Linked DNA regions of Homo sapiens: regions 1, 2 and 3 are each linked to region 4. Evidence: promoter capture Hi-C in 16 types of primary human blood cells and fetal thymus (Javierre and others, 2016). All regions are on one chromosome and are shown on one strand. The core of a region is centred on a gene start or on the middle of the fragment in contact, and the rest is flanking DNA. Distances in the headings are between cores, read along the strand shown.

The links. The method cuts DNA at HindIII sites, captures the fragments that hold promoters and counts their contacts. A CHiCAGO score of 5 or more calls a contact.
Region 1: a contact is called between a fragment that was not itself captured here and the fragment with the promoter of SNRK-AS1 in region 4, in 2 of 17 cell types (naive CD8 T cells and non-activated CD4 T cells). The highest score is 5.7, in naive CD8 T cells.
Region 2: a fragment that was not itself captured here is called in contact with the fragment with the promoter of SNRK-AS1 in region 4 in 5 of 17 cell types (naive CD8 T cells, non-activated CD4 T cells, total CD4 T cells and 2 more); the score reaches 9.6 in naive CD8 T cells.
Region 3: a contact is called between a fragment that was not itself captured here and the fragment with the promoter of SNRK-AS1 in region 4, in 1 of 17 cell types (non-activated CD4 T cells). The highest score is 5.0, in non-activated CD4 T cells.

Annotation. Positions count from the first base shown.
Region 1 is chr3:43,096,279-43,099,985 of GRCh38, reverse strand. The region is part of intron 1 of POMGNT2 (protein O-linked mannose N-acetylglucosaminyltransferase 2 (beta 1,4-)); the gene reads left to right. Among named protein-coding and RNA genes, the nearest start is that of POMGNT2, 7.9 kb to the left of the region's middle. RefSeq lists enhancers at 1,509-2,009, 2,010-2,510. The HindIII fragment of the contact is 615 bases long and covers 1,738-2,352 here.
Region 2 is chr3:43,186,741-43,190,851 of GRCh38, reverse strand. No RefSeq gene overlaps it. Among named protein-coding and RNA genes, the nearest start is that of POMGNT2, 83 kb to the right of the region's middle. The HindIII fragment of the contact is 2,162 bases long and covers 1,112-3,273 here.
Region 3 is chr3:43,135,711-43,139,687 of GRCh38, reverse strand. No RefSeq gene overlaps it. Among named protein-coding and RNA genes, the nearest start is that of POMGNT2, 32 kb to the right of the region's middle. The HindIII fragment of the contact is 6,011 bases long and covers 1-3,977 here.
Region 4 is chr3:43,350,377-43,354,282 of GRCh38, reverse strand. SNRK-AS1 (SNRK antisense RNA 1) reads left to right here and starts at 2,321. Exons shown (of 3, transcript NR_046757.1): 1 at 2,321-2,685; 2 at 2,902-2,952. It overlaps SNRK (SNF related kinase), which reads right to left. Exons shown (of 7, transcript NM_017719.5): 7 at 3,140-3,906. The HindIII fragment of the contact is 8,620 bases long and covers 1-3,906 here.

The DNA of each region.
Region 1 (3,707 bases), core at 796-3,295, 250 kb after region 4:
TAAACTTGGCTTTCTAACCTTTCTGAGCTTTGATTTTTACCATCTATAAAATAAAGATTATCATTGCAAAGTGAAGAATCTGGCACCTAGTGATTGGCCAGTAGATCTTAGCTATGATAATATCATTATTATTAGGAAAGGGAGGAGTTGAGGGTGACATGGTGGTAATGAGACCAAAGGAAAACTCAGCCTAATTCTGTCACCTCCTTCTGCTTGCTGATGTGGGATCTCAGGGTCCCTGGGTATCTGGCAGGGACCTGGCTGCCATAAAGCGTCACCCTGCAGAAGGCTTTGCAAGTAGTCACCTGAGCCCATAGGGCTCTACTGTTGAAACCCAGGTCTCCTGGCAGCTTTATCTCCTGCCTTCCCTGGCACTTCTGTGCCTGCCCCACAGCCTGGGCTCCCCGACCTTTACCTGTCTGGGTATGCAGTGCCCACTGAACTGCACATGGCTTTGGGCCTGGCCATCACTGCCCATGGCTTGGAGGCCTCATGGTTTGCTGGACATTTGTGAGAACTAGACAGTGATGCTTGCTGCAGACAGATTTGTAGCAGTCATGAGTAATTGGGACATGTAGACACATAACAGAGATGCTCATCTTATCCTCCATCACCACCAAAACACCTCCAAAAACTTGCTCAAAACTCACCCACCCTCCAGCCAGCTTCCCTGGATGATCTCTTGTTGTGCACACTTCCTCGTGTTTCTTTGTGAATGTTTTATGCTTCCTATACTGGGTGTTTTTGGCTCTCTTGATCAGTTCAACCCTCTCAAATTGGGCCTGAGGGTCCATCTGGATTTGTGTACACACTGGGGTCTGAGCATTCCCTGTAAGAATTGTTTTCATTTGATTTTGTAGTTCCACCTAGAAAACCTGGTGTAGGCGTGTTCTCCATTACCTTTGTGAGCCACACAACAGAGGTTCCCACCGTTCTGTTCCCTGTTTCATCCCCGTTTATGACCACACTGGTACACAGTGATGCCAGAGAGGACCAATACAGGCACATGTCACTTCCAGGTGACCCATTTGTGCTAAGCAAAAGCCAGATGACACGGCAGGCTGTGTGGCAAGCAAAGGTTTCTGCGTTATTTGGAGGCTGAAAACCGGTGAGAGGGTTGCATATGAGCTGGTGGAAGGCCGAACGTCCTGCCCCACACTCAAGCCTTGGTTTATCCTCAGCAAAGACTGACATCACCCTTCTCACCAAAGTAGTACAGACTTGAATTCTGTTGGAGTTTTTCCTGCTTTGAAGGGGTTCCTTTTCTATTGATAAGGCAATATAGTCACAGTCATCAGCTATTGATGGTGGATTAATGTCTCCAGCTTTGACTTTGCTTTGCTCTTTATTCTAAAGCAAGAAGATACTACCCATGTCAAAGTTTTAATCTAAGAAAGTGAGCCCTTAACTAAATGTTAAATATGCCTTGATAATTAAATGTGTTAAGTTTTACAAGAACCACTCAGACTGCCAAGATTTTGCCAAAGGATAAATACCTTGGTCAGAAAACCTGATCTATAAATGCCGAATTTATCAATAGCATTAGGTTAATATTTAATTTAGGAGCAAATGTAAGCATTATGTTATTAATACCAGTTCCATATACTACTTCAGATAACCAAAAAAAAAGGAGGGGGAAAGAGATCATTCTGAGGATAAGCTTGAGTTAGTGAAACATGTTTACTCCTTACTAATTTACAACATGTAAGACAACAAATCAATACAGGACTGAAAGCTTCCACAATCTAGCACTAGTACTTCAGGCTGCATTTAGGACAAAAACACTTTTCAGTGACAAAATAAGATTTCTATAATTTTCAATTGGAAGTGTGAACAATCCTTAAAAGTCAAATTGCTGTGAAAGTAAAATATAAAACCTTCTGCACCGTTGCTGACCCCCTCCTGGCCTGGGCCCTGCCTGATCTTCTGCAGCCTGGGTCTGGCAGGTGCTGGCTGTCTGGTCCCTCCACCTCTGTAACCCTTCTTGTGGAGGAGTGACCGGTGAGCTGCTGGTTCTGGCAGTCACAAAACTGGGAACCCGGGCACAGGCCATGGTGAGGCCAGCAGGACAGGGGATTTGCTTTAGACCAGAGCTTGCAAATGAGCATCCGTTTTTAACTGGCAACCATGAGGCCAGCAGCCCCAGGCCTTGGTGCACGTTGTCTTCACTCAATTTGAATAATTGCCAGAAGTTACAAATGAGGACATTTCACATTTTAAATAGATTTTTGCTTCTCTGGGAAAATCAGAAGAGTATTGCTATGGACTGAATCATGTTCCCCCCATTTATATGTTGAAGATCTAACCCCCCTGTGATTGTGTTTAGAGATAGATCATCCTAATAATGAAGCTTAAATGAGGTCATAAGGGTGGGGCCCTAATCTGATAGGACTGGTGTCCTTATAAGAAGAGGAAAAGAGATCAGAGTGTTTCTCTCTCTCCCCACCTCCCTCTCCCGGCTTCCTTTCTCCCTCCCTTTCCCCCTTGCTCACCTGCCCCTCTCCTCCCTCCCCACCACACAGAGAAGAGGCCATCTACAAGCCAGGAAGAGAAGCCTCACCAGAAACCAACCCTGACAGATCTGTGAGAAAATTCTGTCATTTAAGGCACTCAGTCTGGTATTCTGTTATGGGAGCCCAAGCAGACTGATACAGATAGGTACCACCAGGCTGCTTTCCCGCCATTCTCTCATCAGCTGGCATTAGGTGTTCTGTCTCCAGGTCACACAGCCCACCCTCAGCTTTACTTTCTCCATTGGCTCCGGCCCTAGCAGGCATGTGAGTGTGCACCTCCTACTCTGGGCCCAGAATTCCTGGAGCTTTTACTCCTTATCAAACCTTAAAGCCCTTATGGGCTTTTCTGTGCCCGTGTCTGGGGCTGGCCAGGGCCCCCAGAAGTACAGCCTGCACCCAGCACCAATGACCACCCTCACGTGGTGAGCTCCCCAAGGCAAGTGGCCCCACCCCACCTGCCCAGCTGTTACTGGGGTCTGCAGTTGCAACAGCATTTTTGACATTATCCTCTGATGCTCGGAACAGCTGGGATCCTAGAAAGGAGGATTCACTAAGTCTGGGGATCTGATAACATTTAACTGCTCTTGGGAGCTTAGTAAAGTGGTTTGGGGGAGTGAATTGGTAGCTTCCTCCTGTCTGCCTCAGTTTCTAAAGGGATTTTCTAGGCATGTTTTTAATCTCTTGTTGATTTCTTTTTTCTCTTTCTTTTGAAAAAATTTTTGTTTTATCATGCTTTGTCCTGGCTGAGCCACTAAGCCCTTTGTTCCCCACTCCAGTTGGTCTCTAAATTTGGTGCCCAATATAGAGGAGGCAGAGGCAGATAAACATGGTGGTGTTGAAGTACCCTGGTCTGTGTGGCCCTGGAATGCCAAGAAGGTGAGGTCCAAATGGTGCCTGGGCTATTAACATAAGACAGTGCTTAGAATCCATGTTCAGATCCTGCCTCCATTCTGTACATGCTGAGGGACTTGGACACATTTACTTAGCTTCTCCCAGCCTCTGTGTCCCAATCTATAAAATGGAGTAATAGAAATAGTGTTAGCCTCTTAATGTTGGTTTGAAGATTGAATGAGAAAATATACCTACAGTGTTCAGTATACTGCCTGGAACATAAAGTGTTAGAGGCTGGTGATTTTGAGTGTGTTTTTCAAGGTAAGAGTGGGTTCATATTTAATAGTTGTTGGTAATCTGGGA
Region 2 (4,111 bases), core at 943-3,442, 160 kb after region 4:
TCCTTTCCTTGCCCAGCTGACATTTTATCTTAGTTGAGGGAGACAGACGATAAACAAACGAGTAAGAAATATAGCAAAACAGCTGGGGATAAGGGCAATAAAAATATCACAGCAGGGGAAGGGCTTTGGGAGTGTCAAGCAGGCTTCAGTTTAAGATGAGTGCTCAGCAAAAGCCTGAAAGCAATGGCCTGAAGGAGAGAAAGGATTGAACCATCTGGAGACGGAGGTAAGAGGGTTCCAGCAGAAGGGACAGCACATGCAAAAGCCCTGGCATGTCCTTGGAAGCACAGGGAGATCAGGGTGGCTGGAAGAGAGCGTGTCAGTGGTAGGAGGGAGTTGGAGATGAGATAGGAAGGTCACCAAGTCTGACTGTGTAGGGCCTTGAGGGGTGGTAGAAGGATTTGACTTTTCTCTGATCATGATAGGGAAGCATTGGAGGATTAGAGCAGAGCAGTAACATGACTTAACCCTAAGAATAAACTACAGGCAGGAAAAGGTAGGAACAGGGGGACCCGTTATGAGGCTATTGCAATAATCCAGGTGAGGGACAATGATTACTTGGACCAGGAGGACATTACAGGTGCGAGATGAGATGGAGTCTTGATATATTTGAAGGTAGAACTGACGGGATTTCCTAGTAGAAATATGAGACAGGGAAGAAAGGTCAGAGGTGACTCCAAGATTATCCTGAGGCAACCAGGGAATGGAGCTGCCATTTTCTGAGATGGGAAAGACTGTGGGAGTGTGGGGCTTGAGTAGACAGATTAGAAGTTGGTCTTAAAATTTTAAGTTTGAGATGATACATAGCCAAATTGGATGTCAAGAGGCAGTCTGGGGTTTGGGAAGAGGCTGAGGCTAGAGATACAAATCTGAGTTTTGAAACCAAAATATTGATATTTAAAGCCACAAGATTATTAAGGACGTGCATGTAGACAGAGAAAAGTTTCAAGGAGTGGGTCCTAGATTAAAAGGAAGAATGACCTCTTCTTCTTGGGGCAACCCCAGATCCCTGGGTGGCCCAGAAACTGACCCTGAGTTTGTACAAAAATGGTACAATTTCCATTCTTAAGTGGGAAGAGCTCTGACCCTTAATATTTGACTACAGCAAGCTTCTCTTGCCTTTAGTGACCACCTCACATCACAGATGAAAGATGAACATTTGTGGTCAGATAGATATGGCTGAGGAGTATTCCTTGATGACCTCACTCCTTGTACCTCCTGCTCAAGTTGCCCAAATTCCTCCAGTGCATGATGGTCAAGGGCACCCAAAGCTAGGATCTCAAGGTCACTATTCATAGTCCCATGCACGACCAACCCCACACAACTCCACCTGCTCTTGCAGTGCACAGTCAGAATCCTTTGGATGTCCAGTTCTCAGTTTCCTTCCCCTCACCATGGATAAGCCCCCAGGGATCAGTCAGCTTAGCTTTCAAACCTTGAAACAAAATGAGTTGATTCCACTCCCTTTCTTGCAGTATAGTGTTACCTCCAAGAGAAGACCCTGAATGTTAAGGTGTTTGAAGGGGGCCCAGTGAATGACATCCCCTTTCTCACTTTCTCACTTGAACCAATTAAGAAATAATTGAACCAATTCTGAACCCGTTAAGAAATAAAACAAAGGAGTAATAAGGCAGATGAAAGCCAGAATGCCACTTATACAGATAAAGCAGATGTTGGAGAAAGGCTCATCGTTGGCTTCATGTCTTTCCAAGTGCTGAACCCCTGAATTAGGCATCTCACCCACCCAAACATGGCAGAGTTGGACCAAGGATCCGGTCCCTATGAGATGTACAACATGGGTGAGTAGACCCAAGAAGTTCTGGGCTGTGCTGTCCAGCTTCTCCTCCCAAACTCACAATCAGAATAACCTCTCCCTCCAGGGCAGGGGGACTGAAGAGGGTGGAGAGAGTCCAGAAGTGCCATATCAGGGGTGCTGTCTCCACTTGGATGGAAACATCTTATGGGGATAAGCTATCCTCACTTTCAAACCTTCATCAACATAACTTCTAAAAGACAAAAGACTCCTTTAGCATCCTTGGAAGTGGTGATTCACTCTTCCAGTGGTGAACAAGGGGAACCTGGCACAGCTCTTACAAAGACAATGAAAAACAAACCACTATGTCATGTGTAGATATCAATATGCAAAGAGATGTGCACGCACATGTGGGCACACACAGACACACAGATGGATTATACAGTATGCTTATAGCATATTTTATAACTGCTCCTTTCACCTAAAACATCAAGACTCTCCTTCTAATACATATACTTTTAAAATTGCCTTAATGGACAAATGTCATTCCATTGTGTGGTATACCCATCTTTTAATAACCTGTCTCTTATTGTTGGTTATCTGGTTTGCTTCCAATCCTTTTCTACTATTAAAAAAAATACCTAAACCTTCTTTTAGATAAATTGGTTCATATTTTTTACAATTTCCTTAAGCTAAATTCCTGGAATTGGATTTGCTGGTTTAAAGGGCAGGCAGGTTTTCAACACTGGTTACATTTTGAAAATTATGTAACAGATGTCATTGACGTAGTCCAATGTGCAAAGGACAAAGAGAATAGACAAATAAGTTAGTTTACCTTGCAGGCTATGAGCTCCCATAGTGGACCTCTGTGTCTCCCACAAACCCTGGGACTATGCTGGGTACCTTAGAACTTCATCTCATTGTGTGTTAGCTGATGGACTGAAGAGAACTAATGGGAAGGGATGGTTATATATGGGCTTTCTGTATATGACAAAGGCAAGTGCATTTTCAAGAGTGAGTAGAGGCCTCTGCCAGCTGGGTAGAGGCAAGCATGGTGGTTCTTTTGCCAGAATTCCATGCTGTTTCTCTGTGCCTGAGTGATTTGGTTTGGTACTCTAATACCAAGCCAGACAAGGATACTACAGGAAAAGAAAATTACAGGCCAATATCTCTGCTGAACATAGAAACAAAAATCCTCAACAAAATACTAGCAAACCAAATTCAACAGCATGTTAAAGGATCATACACCACAATCAAGTGGTATTTATCTCTGGAATGTAAGGATGGGTCAACATACGCAAATTAATAAATGACATACCGCATTGACAGAATGAAGAATTAAAATAATGAGATTTTCTGCATCTCAATAAATGCAGAAAAAGCATTTGACAAAATTTAACATCTTTTCATGATTAAAACTCTCAAAAATTATAGATAGAAAAAATGTACCTCAACATAGCAAATGCCCTATGTGACAAGTCCACAGCTAATATTATACTCAATGGAAAAAGTTGAAAGCTTTTCCTCTAAGATTGGAAACAAGATAAGGATGTCCACTCTCACCACTTCTATTTAGTAAAGTACTTACTGGAAGTCCTAGCCAGAGCAATAGGAAAGAAAAAGAAATAAAAGGCATCCAAATTGAAAGGAAGAAGCAAAATTGTCTGTGTTTGCAGGTGATACCATCTATTAAAAAACCCTGAAGACTTCACAAAAAACTATTAGAACTAATAAATTCAGTAAAGTTGCAGGATACAAAATTAACATTTCAAAATCAATAATCTATCCTTTCTTTTCCTTTCTTTCCTTTCTTTCCTTCCTTCCTTTCTTCCTTTCTCCTTTCTTAAAATCATATAAATGGCCAACAAGTATATGGAAAAAATGCTTAACATTATTAATCATCAGAGAAATGCAAATTAAAACCACAATGAGGCATCACCTCATACCTGTTAGGATGGCTGTTATCAAAAAGATAAAATAAAAGTGTTGGTAAGGATGTAGAGAAAAGGGAATTCTTGTACACAGCCCCATGAAAAAACTTGGCTGCTTACACCCCTGGTCACAGGACGATTTGTGTAGTAGTGGGAATAGAAGCTGCTGAAGGGTTTTCAGCTTCTCACGGATAAAACTAAGGGAGTGTCTTGCTGTGACCAGGAAGATGGCCCTCCAGAACAGGGAGGGGGTTCCCACCTTCCCTTGGCTTCCCAGAGCATGGTGGAGAGGTTAGGACTCAAACAGATGTCTGTTCAAATCCTGATGCTGAGGCTATCTCACTGTAGGAATGTGAACGAGTTACTTAACCTCTCTATGCCTCAGTTTTCTTGGCTGAAAGTGAAGGTAGCAACACATAGCACTTAG
Region 3 (3,977 bases), core at 199-2,698, 210 kb after region 4:
CCTGTGATGAGCTCTGCTTGCTCTGTTTACAAGATAGAGCAAGCAGGGCAGGCATTTCAGGAAATCACGTCTGACAGCTTCTTCTTCATGGCCCTCTCTGACTTCATTTTGGTTAGGGTTTTCACATAAATGACTATTTTGTTACTGTTAACTTCCACATGTTGCAGGAGTGACATCAATGAAAATGGTGGAATAAGGACATCTAAAAGTCTCTCATCTATAAAAACCATGAGAAGGCCAGGCACAGTGGCTTATGTCTGTAATCCCAGCACTTTGGGAGGCCATGGCGGGTGGATCACAGGTCAGGAGATCGAGACCATACTTGCTAACACAGTGAAACCCCATCTCTACTAAAAATACAAAAAAATTGTTGGGTGTGGTAGCATGTGCCTGTAGTCCCAGCTACTTGGGAGCCTGAGGCAGGAGAATCACTTGAACCTAGGAGGCAGACTTTGCAGTGAGTTGAGATCACACCACTGCACTTCAGTCTGGAGACTCTGTCTCAAAAAAAAAAAAAAAAAGAGAGAGAGAAACTGGCAAAAAATATTAGAATAAACTTTGTCTGAACTCTGGAAATTAACAAAAGGCTTGTGGCAATTCAGAAAGCATTAATTTAAGAAAAACGGCTGAATCTTGGTAAGAACAGTGAATTTGGTGATATGTAATTTGCTCCACATTAGTTCCCCCTTATCTTCCCAGGACATGTTCCAAGATCCCCAGTGAATGCCTGAAGCACAGATAGTCTCCAATCCTATATATACAATGTTTTTTTCCTATATATATGTGCCTATGATAAAGTTTAATTTATGAATTAGGCATAGTAAGAGATTATCGATAACTAATCATAAAATAGAACACATAACAATATACTGTGACAAATATTATGTGAATGTGCTCTCTGTCTTTATCTCTTCTTTCTCTCAAAATATCTTATTGTATTGTACTCACCTATTTTCAGACCATGGTTGACCATGGAAAGTGAAACCGTGGGTAAGCGGGGGACTCCTCCCATACCTAATGTGCAGTAGTCTTAAAAACTAGCATCCTACAATCATGGTAAAAAAACACTAGCAGCTAGGCATCCACTGAAGGGGACAGAACAGAACAGAACAGGGTTAGAGCTCCTTCAAAGTTTAGTATCAGAGAATTGTCATTATTTGGCTTTTATTTTTGTTCCCTGGAAGACATCACTTGCAAAGCTCTCTTTATTTCACCTGATTCAGAAGTCATTCAGTGGAACCCCCTTTTCTTTAGGGGCATTTATGGAAAAGATGGGAATCAACTATTAAACTATGCAGCTGCCTAATGGATAACAGTAGGGCAAACAATAGGTTAACCAAAAACATAAAAGGAAAATTGAGGAAAGAGATGTCCACATAGAGGATTTGAAAAGCTCTGACCTATTCCCGGAAATCTACAGGCTGTGCTCTAAAGCTGTGCATATGGCCAGGGCTGTGTACATGTTAAGGGAAGACCTGTGAAAGCCCTAAGCTCTCACCTCTGTCTGACCTTGAGGCTCTGCATGAAAAAAGTGAAGGGTAAGGCAGAATTGTCAACTGCCAATCTGAGTGTTGAAGAGGTACATCACCCTTGGCAAAGTCTGGGAGACTACAAGTTCCACATATTTGAGGAAATATCTTTCCAACCCATACCTAACAAAGTAACAGAGCAGGGACACCAGTGGCCACAGACAACAAAGATTTAGACTAATGCAGAATTAGTTGAAAAAAAGTCATAAACAAACAAACAACAACAATAACAAATAGCAACAATTAAAAAAAAAAAACTGGGAGAGGACATCTGATTTTCAGAGTTGCCATATTGTATTATCTAAAATGTCCACATTTCAACAAAACATTGTAAGAAACAAAAAGTATGACTAATACACTGGAAAAATGGGCAATTGGTAGAAACTGTCCCTAAGGAAGCCCAGGCATTGTACTTACTAGAAAATAGTTTAAATCAGTTATTTAAAATATGTTCTAAGAACCAGTTTGAGACAAGCCTGGGCAATATAATGAGACCTTCTCTCTACCAAAAAAAGGCTAAAAATTAGCTGGCATGGTGGCACATAGCTACTTGGGAGGCTGAGGCGGAAGGATCCCTTGAGCCTGGGAGGCGGGGTTTGCTGTGAGATGAGATTGCACCACTGCACTCCAGTCTGGATGACAGAGTGAGATCTGTCTCAAAAATAAATAAACAATAAATAAATAAATAAATAATGTTCTAAGAACTAAAGGAAACCAGGCCTATAGAAATAAAGTGTGAGACTAATGTTTCAATAAAGAGAAAATATAAAGAAAAAGGTAGAAATTACAAAAACGAACCAAATAGAAATTCTGGATTTGAAAAGTACCATCACCAAACTGAAAAATTTATAAGAGGTTCCAAACAGCAGATTTGAGCTGTCAGAAGTAAATAAGCAACAAACTCAGAGATAGGTCCATTGAAATTATTCAGTCTGAGGAACAGAAAAAGGAACAAGGAAAAATGAACAGAGCCTCAGAGACATGTGTGACACTGTTATGAACTGAATGTTTGTCACCCTCAAATTTATGTGTTGAAACCCTTTGACGCCCAAGTGATGGTGTTAGGAGGTAGGGCCTTTAGGAGGTAATTAGGATTAGATGAAGTCATAAGGGTGGAGCTGTCGTATTGCCCTTAGAAGAGTTATGAGAGAGCCTTCTTTCTGTCTCTGCCCTTCTGCCATGTGAGGATATCGTGAGTAGACGGTTGTTTATAAGCCAGGAAGTAGGCCCTCACCAGGCATCATATTTACTGGCAGCTTGATCTTGGACTTCCCAGACTCCAGAACTGTGAGTAAGAAATGTTTGTTGTTCAAGTCACCCAGTCTATGGTTTTTTTGTTATAGTAGCTCAAATGGACTAAGACAGACACACCATCAAGCGTATCAACATACATATAATGGGAGTCACAGTGACAAAGAAGGAAAAAAAGGGGCATAAGAATGTTTGAAGGAATGATAGCTGAAAAGTTCCCAAATTTGGTTAAAAACTGTCTACACATCCAAGAAACTCAACAAATTCCAAGTAGGGTAAACTCAAAAACATCCACACCTATACACATCATACTCAAACTACCAAAAGCCAAATATAAAGACAGAATAACTATCGAGGAAGTGAAAAAATGACCCACAGAATGAAAGTTTTTGCAAATTATGTGTCTGACAAGGGTCATGTATCCAGAATATTTAAAGAATTCTTACAACTGAGTAATAAAAAGACAAATAATCCAATTAAGAATGGCAAAGGTTGTATACCTATCTAAAGAAGGTATACATATAGCCAATAAGCACAAAAAAAGGTGCTTGACATCATTAGTCATTGAGGAAATGCAAATCAAACCATGAGATACCAATTCATACCTACTTGGATGACTGTAATAAAAAGGATAGAAAATAAGTTTTGGAGAGGATGTGGAGAAATTATATTTTACATATTATATGCCTTAGAATATTATATATTATATGTATCATCATATATTTTAATTACATACTATATATCACATATTATATCTTCATTTTATATGTCAACAAAAAATGATAAAAAAGGCCAGACACAGTGGCTCACGCCTATAATCCCAATACTTTGGGAGGCCAAGGTGGGCAGATCACGAGGTCAGGAGGTCGAGACCATCCTGGCCAACATGGTGAAACCCCATCTCTACTAAAAATACAAAAATTAGCTGTGCATGGTGGCACGTGCCTGTAATCCCAGCTACTTGGGAGGCTGAGGCAGGAGAATCACTTGAACTCTGGAGGCAGAGGTTGCAGTGAGCCAAGATAGCACCACTGCACTCCAGCCTGGCGACAGAGCTAGACTCCATCTCAAAAAAAAAGAAAAAAGAAAGAAAAAAAATACTCTAGTTGCCAATAGAACGATAAACATACCTGTGATATAAACTTAATGGAAAAGGAGAAAGACCTAAAACTGCAAGTTCACTGCGAATGTTGCAGT
Region 4 (3,906 bases), core at 1,072-3,571:
CTATTTAGACTGCTGTTTCTGGCCAGGATAGAATTAGAGGAATTTGATTGACCCTCTTGCCTTAAACAACTAGGAAACCAAACAAAATATATGGAGCAATAGTTTCCAGACATTGAGCAACAGACAGCATAGGGCTGTCACCCCGAGAGAAGGGAGGCAAATGAGGTGAGCCCTGAGTTGAATGCCCCAGCTCACTGCCCAAAGGCAGTTGCCAGAACACAGAGAGGGAAAGCCCAAATAGTCTGGTTGAGTTGAGCAGGTAGTTTGAAGTTCAAGATCAATGTGCAGGGCAGAGAGGAGGGAGCTGCACAGATAGTGAGCAAGCTCCAAAAGAAAATCTGTGGTCTTTGGTTGAGTACTGATCAGTACTTATGAGAAAACTACCTGAGGCTGGAGAAAGAACCACTGGAAAGCAGCAGGCTGAACAATGCTCAGAACTTACCCAAGGCTGGTAATAGTTCATGTTCCTACCAGCCAGAGTAGAAAAGCCTCAATAGAGTCCCTAGAGAGGTATTGCCTCAGTAGTGGGCCAAATTAGCCCTAGACTGAAGACTGCTCAGGATCTGCCCTAACAGTTTAAAAGTGAGACATGAAGGATCCAATGATTTTAAATAACTGCAGTCCAAAATGAAATCCAATACTTCTCACACGAATACAAAAAATTCCAGCATTCAACAATGCAAAATTCAGTGTCCAGCATTGCAATAAAAATGAATCAAGAATTTTTATACCCAATGATAATATCTTTCATAAAGGAAAAGTAATTTTTCAAAACAAAAGCTGACAGAATGTAATGCCAGCAGATCTGCATTATATGAAATGTTAAAGAATGTTCTACAGGCAGAAGGAAAACCAAACTGTGGATCTACACAAAGAAATGAAGAGTGCTGCAAATGACAAATATGTAGCTAAAATACTCCCCCCCCCCCTGTTTAATCCCTTAAAAACTAGTTAAAACAATATTTATACATATACAAAAATAAAATGTATGACAACAGTAGTATAAGGAACAGGAAGAGGAAAATAGAGGCATACAGTTGTAAGGTTTTTATATTCTACATGAAGTGATATATTAAGATAGACTGTGATATAATAAAATACATGTATTGCAAATCTTATAGCACCCCCTGAAAAACAAGAGTTACAGCCAATAAGCCAATAGCGGAGATAAAATGGAGTAACAAAAGGTGCTCAGTTAAACCAAAACAAGGTAGCAAAAGAGGGAAAAAGAACAGACGAGACAAATAGAAAACTAGGTAGGTTTAAACTCAACCATATTGACAATTACACTAAATGTAATACATCTAAACCCTCAATCAAAGACAGACATTTGCTGATGGGATAAGAAAGCAAGCTCGAACTATATGATATCTGCAAAAAACAAACTTTAAACATAAAGACACAATAGGTTAACAGTAAAGAATGGAAAAAGATATATTCTCACAAGTCAAAAAAAAGCTGGAGTTACTGTATCACTATCACACAAAGTAGATTTCAGAACAAATAGTTTACCAGTCATAAAGAAGGAACATTTCATGAGGAAAGGGATCAATTCATTGATATGACGTAACAATCTTAAATGCTTATGTACCAAACAACAGAGCTTCAAATTTTCTAAAATAACACTGCTAGAACTAAAAGGAGAAATAGACAAATCCACAACTATAGTTGGAGATTTCAACACTCCTCTCTCAATAATTGAGACAGAAAATCAGTAAGAATATAGAAAACTTGAACATTATCAACCAACTTGAACGAACTGACATGTATAGGACACTCCACCAATAGCACTTTCCAAGCACTCAGGAAACATTCACCAAGATAGGTCGTATGTTGGGCCATAAAACAAGTTTCAGTAATTTCAAAAGATTTAAACTATAGAAAGCATGCACTGATAAAAATAGAATTAAACTAAAAATTATAGAAACCTATGTGGGAAAACCCCAAATATTTGGAAACTAAACACGTTTCAAAACATGGTATGATTTAGCCTTTAAAATGATCTCTCATACTGCTAAGTGGAAAATAAATGAGAAAGACAAGGGCAAATGCAGGGAAACCCTTTAAGAGGCATTTACAGTTGAGTGTCATGGACTAGAGTGGTAGTGGTGGTGGCAATGAGAAGGAGTCAACTGTGAAAGGCAAGTTAAGATTTGCTCATAAACTGAATGTTGGGATGAAAAAGTGGATGACACCAAGATTTTCAGCTTGAATGAAACTATTGAAGGCTAGGAGTTGATATTTATTAAGATGGGTGCGCTAGTAAAAGGATTTGAGGGGAAAGATTAGGGGTTTTGAACTTGTAAAAATTGAGATGCTGTAGACACACAGACACATCCAAGAAGAAAAGTCAAATAGATAGTTGAAATCCAGTGTTCCCAGGGTATGTGGGCTAAATATATTTTGGGCTTCTATCAGCATATAGATACTAGACTAACTGAGATCAGGAGTCACTGCAGATAGAGCAGGGGTCCAGAATTGAACATTGGGACATTCCAAATTTAGAGGTTGGAAGAATGAGGAAGGACCAGTGGACATGAAGAGCAGCAAGGCAGAAGTGAGATACTGAAAGATGGGAAGTTCATAAGGAAGAAAGTGAGCAATTCATCAAATTCTAACATGGGATTGAAAATTGATCACAGGAAGTGGTTGCATGAGGCTGGAGTAAAGGGAGTTGCGGACAAGGTAAAGTATGCCAAAGGGCACAAGATTTCTTTGGCGGGCGGGGGGGGGTTGTAAAAGTCAATTATGGTAATGGTTGTGAGAACTGAGTAAGAGTAGCTGACCTTGGAATCACAGTAACAGGAGGAAGGGCAGAGCATGTGAATGTGTATGAAGGAAGGGAGGAAGGCAGAGGTGGGAACTTGTGGCAGTTCTCATTGCTTCCCTTTATTCAATTAGGCAGCATGGTGACCAGCAGAGTGAGGAAAGGAGATGAAATAGAGAAATAAAGTAAGTATACTTAATGGGCACCCTGGCCCCACCTATGATTTGTAGCCATGAGTTTAAACATAATAATGACTGTACTTTTTCAGCCAAATCTGGTGGTGCAGGCACAGGGCATGGAGAAGGCTGGGTCTAACTGAGGTGGGATCACACAAAGCTACACTCATGAGAAGCAATACAACACAGGACACGGTTTATATTGCTGAACACCAATATGTCACTTTATTATTTGGATTTTTTTTCCCATTTGTCACATACCTGTCAATGTTTACACAATGAGGGAAATCAACCAGCATTGGAAGCAACTGACCAAATCAGTTGATAATTCTGTACCCTCTTAACACACATCAATTTTCACTTGGTAGGGATTATCTTTAATTCGGTCTCACAGCTATTCTTAAAATTGGTGTCAAGATTGTCACATCTTTAAATACAGATAGAATTGCCAGAAGTACATAATTATATATATATACACACATACAGAAAAATACAAGACTGTTTTTCCACAATATTTAATTTATACACTACTGTAACTATATGCAACTTTTGAAGACAGGTTAAGGGGTACAAGTAACTGTTTAGAGCAAGTAAGTAGTTTGGTCCAATATTATCTTAATGTAATGGTTTTTCGCTCCCTCCCTTTTATGTGACGACATACTATGACATACAAAACATGCACAATCATTCACTTATAAACAAAGGAGTAAGACACCACTCAGACTGACATTTGTATACCCCAAGGGTCAACCACACAACTAATAAGGCTATAATACAGCTATGCAGCATAAATGGTCAACACTGCTGATCCTAAAGTGAGCACCATATATACATCTGAATATAAAAAACCATTGAAACCAAACACATATGGGTTAGTTAAAAGGTGCCATTCCAAGGCTATACATAATCACAGGAAAAAGTATTTACACTGCTTGGAAAACAGCTGCAACAAAGAGTTTATTG